Regions from separate parts of the Homo sapiens genome. Here regions 2, 3 and 4 are each linked to region 1. The links are contacts of gene promoters, found by promoter capture Hi-C in blood cells and fetal thymus (Javierre and others, 2016). All regions are on one chromosome and are shown on one strand. Each heading gives the region's core, a stretch centred on a gene start or on the middle of the fragment in contact. The rest is flanking DNA. Distances are from core to core; before and after follow the strand shown. Region 1 holds the start of MED12 (mediator complex subunit 12). Region 2 holds the start of GCNA (germ cell nuclear acidic peptidase). Region 3 overlaps TAF1 (TATA-box binding protein associated factor 1). Region 4 overlaps OGT (O-linked N-acetylglucosamine (GlcNAc) transferase).

The links. The method cuts DNA at HindIII sites, captures the fragments that hold promoters and counts their contacts. A CHiCAGO score of 5 or more calls a contact.
Region 2: a contact is called between the fragment with the promoter of GCNA here and the fragment with the promoter of MED12 in region 1, in 4 of 17 cell types (naive CD8 T cells, total B cells, naive CD4 T cells and 1 more). The highest score is 6.6, in naive CD8 T cells.
Region 3: a fragment that was not itself captured here is called in contact with the fragment with the promoter of MED12 in region 1 in 1 of 17 cell types (non-activated CD4 T cells); the score reaches 5.9 in non-activated CD4 T cells.
Region 4: a fragment that was not itself captured here is called in contact with the fragment with the promoter of MED12 in region 1 in 1 of 17 cell types (non-activated CD4 T cells); the score reaches 8.5 in non-activated CD4 T cells.

Annotation. Positions count from the first base shown.
Region 1 is chrX:71,117,323-71,120,022 of GRCh38, forward strand. It overlaps MED12 (mediator complex subunit 12), which reads left to right and starts at 1,274. Exons shown (of 45, transcript NM_005120.3): 1 at 1,274-1,531; 2 at 2,051-2,155; 3 at 2,364-2,555; 4 at 2,692-2,700. The coding sequence starts at 1,433. The HindIII fragment of the contact is 19,646 bases long and covers 1-2,700 here.
Region 2 is chrX:71,577,126-71,579,825 of GRCh38, forward strand. GCNA (germ cell nuclear acidic peptidase) reads left to right here and starts at 1,312. Exons shown (of 13, transcript NM_052957.5): 1 at 1,312-1,397. RefSeq lists an enhancer at 1,519-2,160. The HindIII fragment of the contact is 6,206 bases long and covers 1-2,700 here.
Region 3 is chrX:71,390,780-71,393,479 of GRCh38, forward strand. TAF1 (TATA-box binding protein associated factor 1) reads left to right here. Exons shown (of 38, transcript NM_004606.5): 19 at 1,790-1,939; 20 at 2,096-2,215; 21 at 2,522-2,697. Among named protein-coding and RNA genes, the nearest start is that of TAF1, 26 kb to the left of the region's middle. The HindIII fragment of the contact is 3,497 bases long and covers 1-2,700 here.
Region 4 is chrX:71,549,717-71,552,416 of GRCh38, forward strand. All of the region lies in intron 5 of OGT (O-linked N-acetylglucosamine (GlcNAc) transferase), which reads left to right. Among named protein-coding and RNA genes, the nearest start is that of OGT, 18 kb to the left of the region's middle. The HindIII fragment of the contact is 544 bases long and covers 1,007-1,550 here.

The DNA.
Region 1 (2,700 bases), core at 24-2,523:
TGGCCTCCCAAAGTGCTGGGATTACGGACGTGAGCCACCACTCCCCGCCTTGAATTACTTCTTCTTTCCATTGTGATTCAATAGCATTTTGTTATTTTTGTTACTGGTGTTATTTTTGTTTATTGTTATTTGTTACTTTTGTTACAGCACACTGGCTGTCTTTTCTCTAAAAGGCAATACAAGGCCGGCACAGTGGCGCACGCCTGTAGTCCAGGCTACTGGGAGGCTGAGGCGGGAGGATCGCTGGAGTCCAGAAGGTTGATGCTGCAGTGAGCCGTGATAGCGCCACTGCACTCCAGCCTAGGCGACAGAGGGAGAACCTGCCTCAAAATAAACAAATAGCAATACGACAATAGGATATTGGCTCTGGAATTCAGAATCTTAGTGCCAGCTCTGTTACTCAGTAGCTGTATAATATTGGATAAGTGAATTTTCACACTTTGAAAACCAGCTTCCTCCATCCGCAAAATCGAGCCAATAATAATCCCTAACTCATGAGGCTGTGAGCAGATTAAAGGAGATAGTGTCTGAAAAGCATCTGACACAATAGGTGCCTCTTTAGCTAGACCAAGGGTTCTTAACCTGGAGTTCATGGACCCTTAGGGGATACATGGATGAACTTCAGGGGATCTAAGAATCTAAAGCAACATTTTGCATGTCAATATATGCATATTATTATTATTATTATTATTATTTCTGGGAAGAAGGTCCATAGCTTTCATCAGCACCTTTAAGGGTTTGTGAATCAAAAACGTTAGTATGCGGTACCCTTGGGCAGAAAAACAAACAAGAAAAGGTTAGACAACTCGATGGTAGACCTTGAGGGATTAGAGCCAGCCTTTCAGGGTTTAATAGGTTCTTTCTCATGCATACATAGTTTCTAATGTTCACAATAGCCCCTTGAAGGAGGTGTTAGCGCACCTATTTTTCAGATGCCGGAACTAAGAAACGAACTGATCTGTAATAGACGGAGTTCCTAACCAATGCAAATATTATTGAAGACTTTTCTAGGCCAAAACCGAGCTAGGCTATGGGAACCGAAGTCCAGTCAGAACTCAGCACCACAGAGGCCTCCTTCTTCCCTGGTTTGCATCCCCAGCTCATTCTGCGCCTCCGGAACGTTTCATAGATTTTTGCTGAGTGAAATCGACTTGCTGCCGCCACCGCCGAAAAACTCCCGGGGCACAGAGCTCCGCCCCCACCGGGCCAGGCCCCACCTCCTCTGCAGTCGGTATTGTCCGATGGTTCCCGGCGTACCTCGGCTTCCCTCGGTAGTTTCCGGCAATGGTCGAGAGTTTCTAACGTGCCCCCTTGTTGTCTCTCGGCCGCCGTCCTCTCAACCACCGCCCCCCTTTTCGGCTCCCTCTCCCCCTTCCCGTTCCCCCAGTCAGCCTGGCCCTGCTGGTGCCTCCGGCGCTACGGGCTGGGCAAGATGGCGGCCTTCGGGATCTTGAGCTACGAACACCGGCCCCTGAAGCGGCCGCGGCTGGGGCCTCCCGATGTTTACCCTCAGGACCCCAAACAGAAGGAGGTGCGTTCGAAAATCGGGGCTCTGGAGGGGCCGGGGGCACGCGGTCAGCCTAGGAGGAGGCACTGACGGCTGGGAATGGGGGGCGGGGCGGTTCGGTGAGAGCAAAAGTCCCGAAAGGGGGAAGAGTAAAGTGGGCTGGCGTGGGAGGGCAGGACGGGGGGCGGTGGGGGGTTCCAAGGTATGAATAGGGGGTGGTGTAGGGGCCGCACCAGAGGCGCCCTCCTCCACACACACCTCAGAAAGTTGTCTGAGACAGCTTGGTGGGGTACGGCTGCTCGGCTGTTCGCAAGAGAAGAGTGATGTTTGAGGGCGCGCTGGGTGGCTGGGAATCCTAGTGACCATGGGAGTGAGGGTGGGGTCCAAGTGAACGTAAGGGCCCAGCTTTAAGTAACGATCTGTTCTACACGGAACCCTCCTCCTGCCCTTTCACCTTGTTCCTTCTTTTCTCCTGCCCTACTCTCCCACCCCTTCCCCCTTCCCCTAAGGAAAAAACAACTAAACGCCGCTTTCCTGCCTCAGGATGAACTGACGGCCTTGAATGTAAAACAAGGTTTCAATAACCAGCCTGCTGTCTCTGGGGATGAGCATGGCAGTGCCAAGAACGTCAGCTTCAATCCTGCCAAGGTGAGACAACTCTGCCAGGCTGAAGGAAAAGGCTGGAAGAATCTAAGAAGGAGCAAAGGCCCTGGGTTGGGAAGACTTATAGGGACAACCTAAGTGGCTGAGTTTGCCTTCATGACCTAATACTATCTCATTGGCATTTGCCCAGCAAAAGGCAGGACCACCTGTCTGCCCCTTCTTCCCACCCTGAGGTACACTTTTCTTCCCTCAGATCAGTTCCAACTTCAGCAGCATTATTGCAGAGAAATTACGTTGTAATACCCTTCCTGACACTGGTCGCAGGAAGCCCCAAGTGAACCAGAAGGATAACTTCTGGCTGGTGACTGCACGATCCCAGAGTGCCATTAACACTTGGTTCACTGACTTGGCTGGCACCAAGCCACTCACGCAACTAGCCAAAAAGGTAAGGTACTGTTTCCTGTCCTTCAGGCCAAGGAGGGAGCATGGGGTACCAAGTACCCTCCTATTCCCATATTAAGCTACATGGGTGTCAGCTCATGGGGATAATAGAGACCTCACTATTTGCAATGTCCATCCAGGTCCCCATT
Region 2 (2,700 bases), core at 62-2,561, 460 kb after region 1:
TTTAGGTAGGCAATCTGGTGCTTAAGAGCAGGTTTTGGAACTAGAGTTGGAGTTTGAATCTCAGCTCTGCCACTTTTTTTTTTTTTTTTGAGATGGAGTCTCGCCCTGTCCCCATGCTGGAGTGCAATGGCACGATCTCGGCTCACTGCAACCTCCGCCTCCCAGGTTCCAGCGATTCTCCTGCCTCAGCCTCCCGAGTAGCTGGGATTACAGGCGCGGGCCACCACACGCGGCTATTTTTTTTTTTTTATCTTTAGTAGAGACGGGGTTTCACCATGTTGACCAGGCTGGTCTCAAGCTCCTGACTTCGTGATCCACCCGCCTCAGCCTCCCAAAGTGCTGGGGTTACAGGCGTGAGCCACTGTGCCCGGCCAGCTCTGCCACTTTCTAGCTGTGTGATCTCTAAAATGAGAGTGCTAACAGTTGCCTACTTTTTAAAGTGTTGTATGAATTAAGTCGTAAGACACTTGGAATAATGCTTAGCACAAAATAGTATCAAACGCAGGGACATTTTATGTGTGTTCTGTTACCCAAAGGCATACATTACGAAATATATAGATGCTCGCTGGAGAAACTGGCACAATCTAGAAAGCGCTGTTTTCCCCGTTTGTTTTTCTTGGTGTGTATGGAGTGAGTGCCAAAAAGCCTCAAGTAACCTTTTTTTATCTCCAGGGTTTGGAGGGTTCTGGAAGTAAACATCATAGTTCGCCGTTGCCAGGCGCTGTTGAGTTGCTGCCTTGCTCTTATCTAGGGGTCTAGATGGCCTTCCCTGCAACCCCCGCCCCCCTGCGCTCCCGCGTCCCCCCGCGCCCCGCCCTCCCCTCGGTGTTCCCGTCCACGCCCCTGCTCCCGCGCCTTCGCTCCAGTTCTCGTGCCCCCGCCCCTCCCCCCGCGCCCTTTCCCAGTGGTTGCAATAACGGACTTAGAGGTCTGGACAATTCAAGTAAGGAACAAGGCTCGCTTATCCAAGTTCTCGCAGGATAAAAGTTTGTTATGAACGATTTCACATGGTTTCTCTTTATCAGAAAGTTGTTAGGGACTTTTAATCGCAGAATTGGCCTCGGGTGCCCACGCTCTAGTATTGAAATGGCGGTTTTGGGACAAATAAGCAACATCCGTGGGAGTGGAAAGCGACAGACCTGATCCCGGAAGCGTTACAGCTAGGCGCCAAGTTCACAGGCGCGAAGTTCAAATTTGTCTTGTGACCACTGTGATAGGTGGGTACAGGGGAGCGCGGGCGAGCACACGTGAATTACTGCTACCGCCCCCTAGGTCCGGGCACTATAAAGGGGCCTGCGCCTGGCGTTGTTCATCGCAGTTGCTCCGGATCTTTGCACACACTCCACGGGCAGTTGGAGGTGAGCTGCTGCCGGCCACGCCAGAGGCTGCAACACCAGGTAGGTGACCGGCTGGTCGGACTGAGATGGGTGCTGAAGTGGTCCAGAGGTTAATCCTAATTGAGTGACTTAATTAAAATCAGGACCACTGTATACCTTGGACTCTGGTTGCCCGTGTAGGCCTGAGGTGGGAGTAGAGGAAGTGGCAGCGAGGGGAGAAGTGGAGGCGCCAGTGGTAGCATTGGGGGAGGTGGGGGCGCCCATGGTGGTGTAGGAAACATATGGTGGCGCCAGTGGCGGCATTGGGAGGGGTGGGGGCGCCGGTGGCGGCGTAGGAGCAGCTGGTAGTGCCAGTGGCGGCGTGGGGAGAAGGGGCGCTGGTGGCGTCATTGCAGATAGTGGGGGGCCTGGTGGTGGCGTAGAAGGAGGTGTTGGTGCCAGTGGCGGGTGGAGAGAAGTAGGGGCACCAGTGGCGGCGTTGGGGGAAGTGGGGGTGCCTGTGGCAGTGTCGGGGAAGTGGGGGTGCTGGTGGTGGTGTAGGAGCATGTGGTAGCACCAGTGACGGTGTGGGGAGAAGTAGGGGCACCATTGGCGGCCTTGGGGGAAGTGGGAGCGCTGGTGGTGGCGTAGGAGCGTGTGGTGGCGCCAGTGGCTATGTAGGAATACGTGGCGCCGGTGGCGGCGCGGGGAGAAGTGAGGGCGCTGGTTGCGGCACTGGGGGGAGGTGGGGGCCCCAGTGGTGGTGTAGGAACAGGTGGTGTCCCTAGTGGCGGGTGGGGAGAAGTAGGGATGCCAGTGGCAGCGTGGGGGGAGGTGGGGGTGCCAGTTGCGGCCTAGGAGTACTTGGTGGCGTTGGTGGCATAGGAGCACATAGTAGCGCTGGCGGTGTGGGGAGAAGTGGAGGCGCCGGTGGCCGCATTGAAGGTGGGGGTGCCAATGGGGGCGTTGAGGGAAGTGGGGGGTTCTGGTGGCGGCGTAGGAACACTTGGTGGTGGTGGAAGTGGCCTAGGAGCACGTGGTGGTGCTGGTGGGCGTGGGGAGAAGTGAGGATGCTGGTGGTGGCATTGGAGGTGGGGGTGCCAGTGGCTGTGGGGAGAAGTGGGGGTGCCCGTTGCAGCATTGGGGGGAGGTGGGAGCTAGTGGTTGTGGGTAGGGGTGTGTGTGTGGGGGTTGAGGTCTCTTTGGCTGAGGACTGAGTGGTGGTGGGAGACAGGAGTGGGGTAGGGCAGAAGTTGGATAGAAGTGTGGGGGAGTGGAAGCCTGCTTGGAAAACCGGTTGGGAGCAGTTGAAGGTGGCTGGAGGTGGTTGGAGGTGCGAGTGTGGGGGAAGGGTGGTGGGGTTGAGGCCTGATTGGTGGAAGAC
Region 3 (2,700 bases), core at 155-2,654, 270 kb after region 1:
GAGGTCAGGAGTTCGAGACCAGCCTGGCCAACATGGTGAAACCCTGACTCTACTAAAAATACAAAATGAGCCGGGCGTGGTGGCGTGCGCCTGTAATCCCAGCTACTTGGGAGGCTGAGGCAGGAGAATCACTTGAACCTGGGAGGTGGAGGTTGCCGGGAGCTGAGACCACGCCATTGTAGTCCAGCCTGGACTAAAAGAACGAATCTCCATCTCAAAAAAAAAAAAGAAAGAAAGAAATGGGATCTTACTGTGTTGCCCAGGCTGATTTTGAACTCCTAGGCTCAAACGATCGTCCTGCCTTGGCCTTCTAAAGTGTTGGGATGATAGGCATGAACCACTGTGCCTGGCCTCTACTTTCTTCCCGTGGCACTGATCACATAGTACTGAACTTGGTTGGCTGTTTTTCCCTCACTAACTTGAGGTTCATGAAAAAGTAGTATGGAGGAGTAGTGTGTAGTTGGTATTCAATAAATATTTGTTAAATGAATTAAGTGATTATAAAATGAAGCAGAAAATGAGGCCACACAGAGTGAGTAAAGAATCGTTGTACTACTCTCTTGAGGTTGGAATGAAAAATGAGTGGATATCTAAGAATTTCAGAAATTAAGAATTCTTTTGAGGCCAGGCGCAGTGGCTCAGGCCTGTAATCATAGCATTTGGGGAGGCCAAGGTGGGAGGGTTACTTGAGGCCAAGGGTTCAAGACCAACCTGGCCAACATAGTGAGACCCTGTCTCTAAAAAAGAAAAACAATTTTTTTTAAATTAAAAATAAAAAAAGAATTCTGTTGAATGGCTTTCCAGATTGAACCTTAGAGAATGGCCATTTTCTTGCTAATCATATATACTCTTTTTTTTTTTTTTTTTGAGACAGAGTCTCACTCTGTCTCCCAGGCTGGAGTGCAGTGGTGCAGTCTGCTGACTGCAACCTCTGCCTGCTGGGTTCAAGCCATTCTCGTGCCTCAGCCTTCTGAGTAGCTGGGACTATAGGTGTGCGCCACCACGCCTGGCTAATTTTTGTACTTTTAGTAGAGATGGGGTTTCACCATGTTGGCCAGGCTGGTCTTGAACTCCTGGCCTCAAGAGATCTGCCCGCCTCAGCCTCCCAGAGTGTTGGGATTACAGGTGTGAGTCACCACACCTGGCCTCATGTACTCCTGACTGGTCTGTGTGGGCAGGCACATTCACCCCTTGGCTTAATTCTTTAAGAATCTTGCAGGGGTTGGTAAACACTATTCAGGGTCCCAGGAGAGGACAGACCTTTTTGACCAAACCAGTGGCAGAAATAGAATGGACTTTGGTTTAGTGTCACTGGAAAAGGGGCCAATGCTTTGAAAGCAAGCATGTCAAGTATTTCGAGAAAATAGGTTTCATTCTAAAACAGCTGTTTGAGCAATTGGACAATCAAATGTAGTCATTAGTCTAATTTTGAGCATCATGAGGGTGAGGGAAACACTGTCCTTAAGAATGTTTATTGAAGCCCAAGGGATAAGGGGCTGAAGGGATACCACTGTTCTTTATTTTTCTCCTTATCCTGCCTGAGCTCTTGACCTCTATTTAATATCATGTTGTAAGTATTGTACCATAGGATAGAAGAGAACTGAGTACTAGGTAGCTATATTTAACTGTTGATTTTTGTGGACAGTTTAAGAGAGCATGAACCCACAGAAATTAAAAATTAGAAAAAAAGAACATGAAAATAGTTTGTAATTATTCTACTCTTGTAGATATTGGCTAGACATAGAACAAATGTTTCCCACTGCCCTGAGAATCTTTTTCTTTATCTCAGGTTCGCACTGCCCCTTGGAACACCACAAGGGCCTTCATTGCTGCCATGAAGGGCAAGTGTCTGCTAGAGGTGACTGGGGTGGCAGATCCCACGGGGTGTGGTGAAGGATTCTCCTATGTGAAGATTCCAAACAAACCAACACAGCAGAAGGTGAGATTGTGTTTATTTCTAGAATGAAAAAGTCAAGGGAGAAAGAAATGGGTGAGTGGAGGACTTGGAATGTAGTTAAGGTAGCAGAATGACTTAGATGCCTACTTAAAAGGAATTCAGGTTTTTAGGAGTCTCACTTTTTTTTGTTTGAGGTAGGATGATAAAGAACCGCAGCCAGTGAAGAAGACAGTGACAGGAACAGATGCAGACCTTCGTCGCCTTTCCCTGAAAAATGCCAAGCAACTTCTACGTAAATTTGGTGTGCCTGAGGAAGAGGTGAGTGTGGAAGTGGAAAATTTAGAGTATACTAGGGGCTTTGTATAGAGTTGGAATTGCTAGGAGGCAGATGTAAAGAACTATCTGGGGAACTTTATTGTAGGGTATAGTAAGCTAAGTCTTAGATATTGTTTTAGGAGTTATCTTTCTATGTAATCTGCTTTGGGGTGATTTTTCTTTTTTGGTCTAACTGTGTACATTGGCTTGTCCTTTGAAATCCCTGAATGATTTGTGTGTGTGTGTGTGTGTGTGTGTGTGTGTGTGTGTGTGTATATTTATATTTGTGTGTGGCTATTTGTCTCGTAGATTAAAAAGTTGTCCCGCTGGGAAGTGATTGATGTGGTGCGCACAATGTCAACAGAACAGGCTCGTTCTGGAGAGGGGCCCATGAGTAAATTTGCCCGTGGATCAAGGTTTTCTGTGGCTGAGCATCAAGAGCGTTACAAAGAGGAATGTCAGCGCATCTTTGACCTACAGAACAAGTG
Region 4 (2,700 bases), core at 29-2,528, 430 kb after region 1:
CAACTGCACTCCAGCCTGGGTGATGGTGTGAGACCCTGTCTCAAAAAAAATGTACTTTAGTAATTAAAAATGATTTTTATAAATGGGCTTTAAAGAAGCAGGGCTTCTTGGTGAAAAGGCAGATTCCAGGTCTGGGGCAGGAATTTAAAAAAAATTTTTGGAATGTCTTGTCATACCAGAAAGCAAGGAAGCTTTGACATATTACTTTGCATCAAAAGGACTCAGGAAGCAACTTGAGGAGGCTCCCACTGGCTAAAGATGCAGACTTGAGCATCAATAGGAATAATAACTGAAATATACTAAAACTTATCAAGTATGTTTAAATCTATGAGCTTATAATTATGCTAAAAAATTCATTGGTCATCTTTGGAAGACTTACAAGGAACAATTAATTTGGAAAACTGGTTAAAAAGAGAAGAATAAAGTTTTTGAGGAACCTCTATACTAGTTCCCAAAATGGCTGTGCCAATTTATACTTCCCCCATCAGTTACAAGGCTTCCCTTTCTTTACATCCTCACTAACACTTGTTATTATTCGTCCTTTTGATGATAGCTATACTAACAAGTGTGAGATGCTAACTCATGGTTTTATTTTGCATTTCCTTGATGATTAGTGATGTTGAGCATATTTTTTATATATCTGCTTGCCATTTGTTTTTTTTGTTTTGTTTTGTTTTGTTTTTTTGAGATGAGGTCCTGCTCTGTTGCCCAGGCTGGAGTGCAGTGGCGCCATAATAGCTCACTGCAACCTCGAACTCCTGGGCTCAAGTGATCCTCCCACCTTGGTCTCCCCAAGTGATAGGATTACAGACATGAGCCACTGTGTCTGGCCTGTACCTCTTCTTTTGAGAAATGTCTGTTTAGATCCTTTGCCCGTATTTTAATGGGCGTATTTGCTACTGAGTTGAGCTTCTTAACCCTTTATCAGTTGTATAGTTTGCAAATGCTTTCTCCTAATCCGGGGTTGCCTATTCACTCTGTGTAATTGTTTCCTTTACTGTGCAGAAGCTTTTTAGTTTGATGCAATCTCATTGCATATTTTTGCTTTTGTTATCTGTGCTTTATGCTAAGTGAAATAAACCAGGCACAGAAAGTAGATACTGTATTATGTCACCTATTTGTGGAATCTAAAAAAGTTGATTTCATAGAAACAGAGAGTAGAAGGGTGGTGAGGCTTGGGGGGGTGGAGGAGGGATGGGGAAAAGGGAGATATTGATCAAAGTTTCAGTTAGACTGGAGGAATAAGTTTTAGTGATCTGTAGTACTGCATGGTGACCACAGTTGTTAATAATGTATATTTCAAAATTGCAAAAAGAATAGGTTTTTAATGTCCTCAACCACAAAAAAATAAGTTAGTGAGGTGATGGCTATGTTAATTAGCTTGGTTGACTCTTTCTAAAATGTATACGTGGATCAAACCATCACATTGTATGCCATAAATATACACAATTATATATCAACTTTAAATTTAAAAATTAAAAGAATAAAGCATATGTCTTCCCTCTCCTGTATGAACTAGACCATAGAGTAACCCAATAGTTGATGGGGGAAGCTTTTCTTTATAAAAGCATTCTAGCTAATAAGTGAAGAAGGAATGATAGAATATCACCATTAATAGTGAAAGCATTTATTAGGCCGGGCTTGGTGGCTCACGCCTGTAATCCCAGCACTTCGGGAGGCCATGGCAGGTGGATCACCTGAGGTCAGGAGTTCGAGACCAGCCTGGCCAACATGGCAAAACCCCATCTCTACTAAAAATACAAAAATTAGCCAGGCATGGTAGCAGGAGCCTGTAATCCCAGCTACTCAGGAGGCGGAGGCAGGAGAATCTCTTGAACCTGGGAGGTGGAGGTTGCAGTGAGCTGAGATTGCACCATTGCATTCCAGCCTGGGCGACAGAGCAAGACTCCATCTCAAAAAATAAAAAAAAAGTTAAAGCATTTATCAGTGACAAAAACGAGATACAATCAGGTATTAAGTACCTTGTGGTAAACAATTTCACCAGTGAAGTAGTCTTGCACAAAGAGAAAAGAACACAAACCTAATTAAGCTTCTGGTTCTACCTACCAATTTACAGGAGATATACACGGGACAGGAAACATGTTAAAGGACACCATAGGGATGCAGTCAGCAAAATTCAAACTTTGGGAAGCTGACCTTCTTACTTCAACAAATTGTAATAAAAATGGAGATTTAAATTAAACTTTTAGGCCGGGTGCGGTAGCTCACCCCTGTAATCTCAGCACTTTGGGAGGCTGAGGCGAGTGGATCACTTGAGGTCAGGAGTTCGAGACCAGCCTGGCCAACATGGTGCAACCCCATCTCTACTCAAAATACAAAAGAAAAAAAAAACAGCTGGGTGCGGTGCGGTGGCGTGTGCCTGTAATCCCAGCTACTTAGGAGGCTGAGGCAGGAGAATTGCCTGAACCCGGGAGGAGGAGGAGGTTGCGGTGAGCCAAGATCGTGCCACTGCACTCCAGCCTGGGCGACAGAGTGAGTGACACTCCGTCTCCAAAAATAAATAATGAGTGACACTCCGTCTCCAAAAATAAATAAATAAACACACAAACTTTTAAAGGATTAAAAGAAACTCAGAGAGGCACATTGACAAATTATATCTGTCTTATTTGGATCCTGACTCAGTTAATGAGAAATTGGAGCACTGAATGGATTTTTTTTTTTTTTTTTTTGAGACAGGGT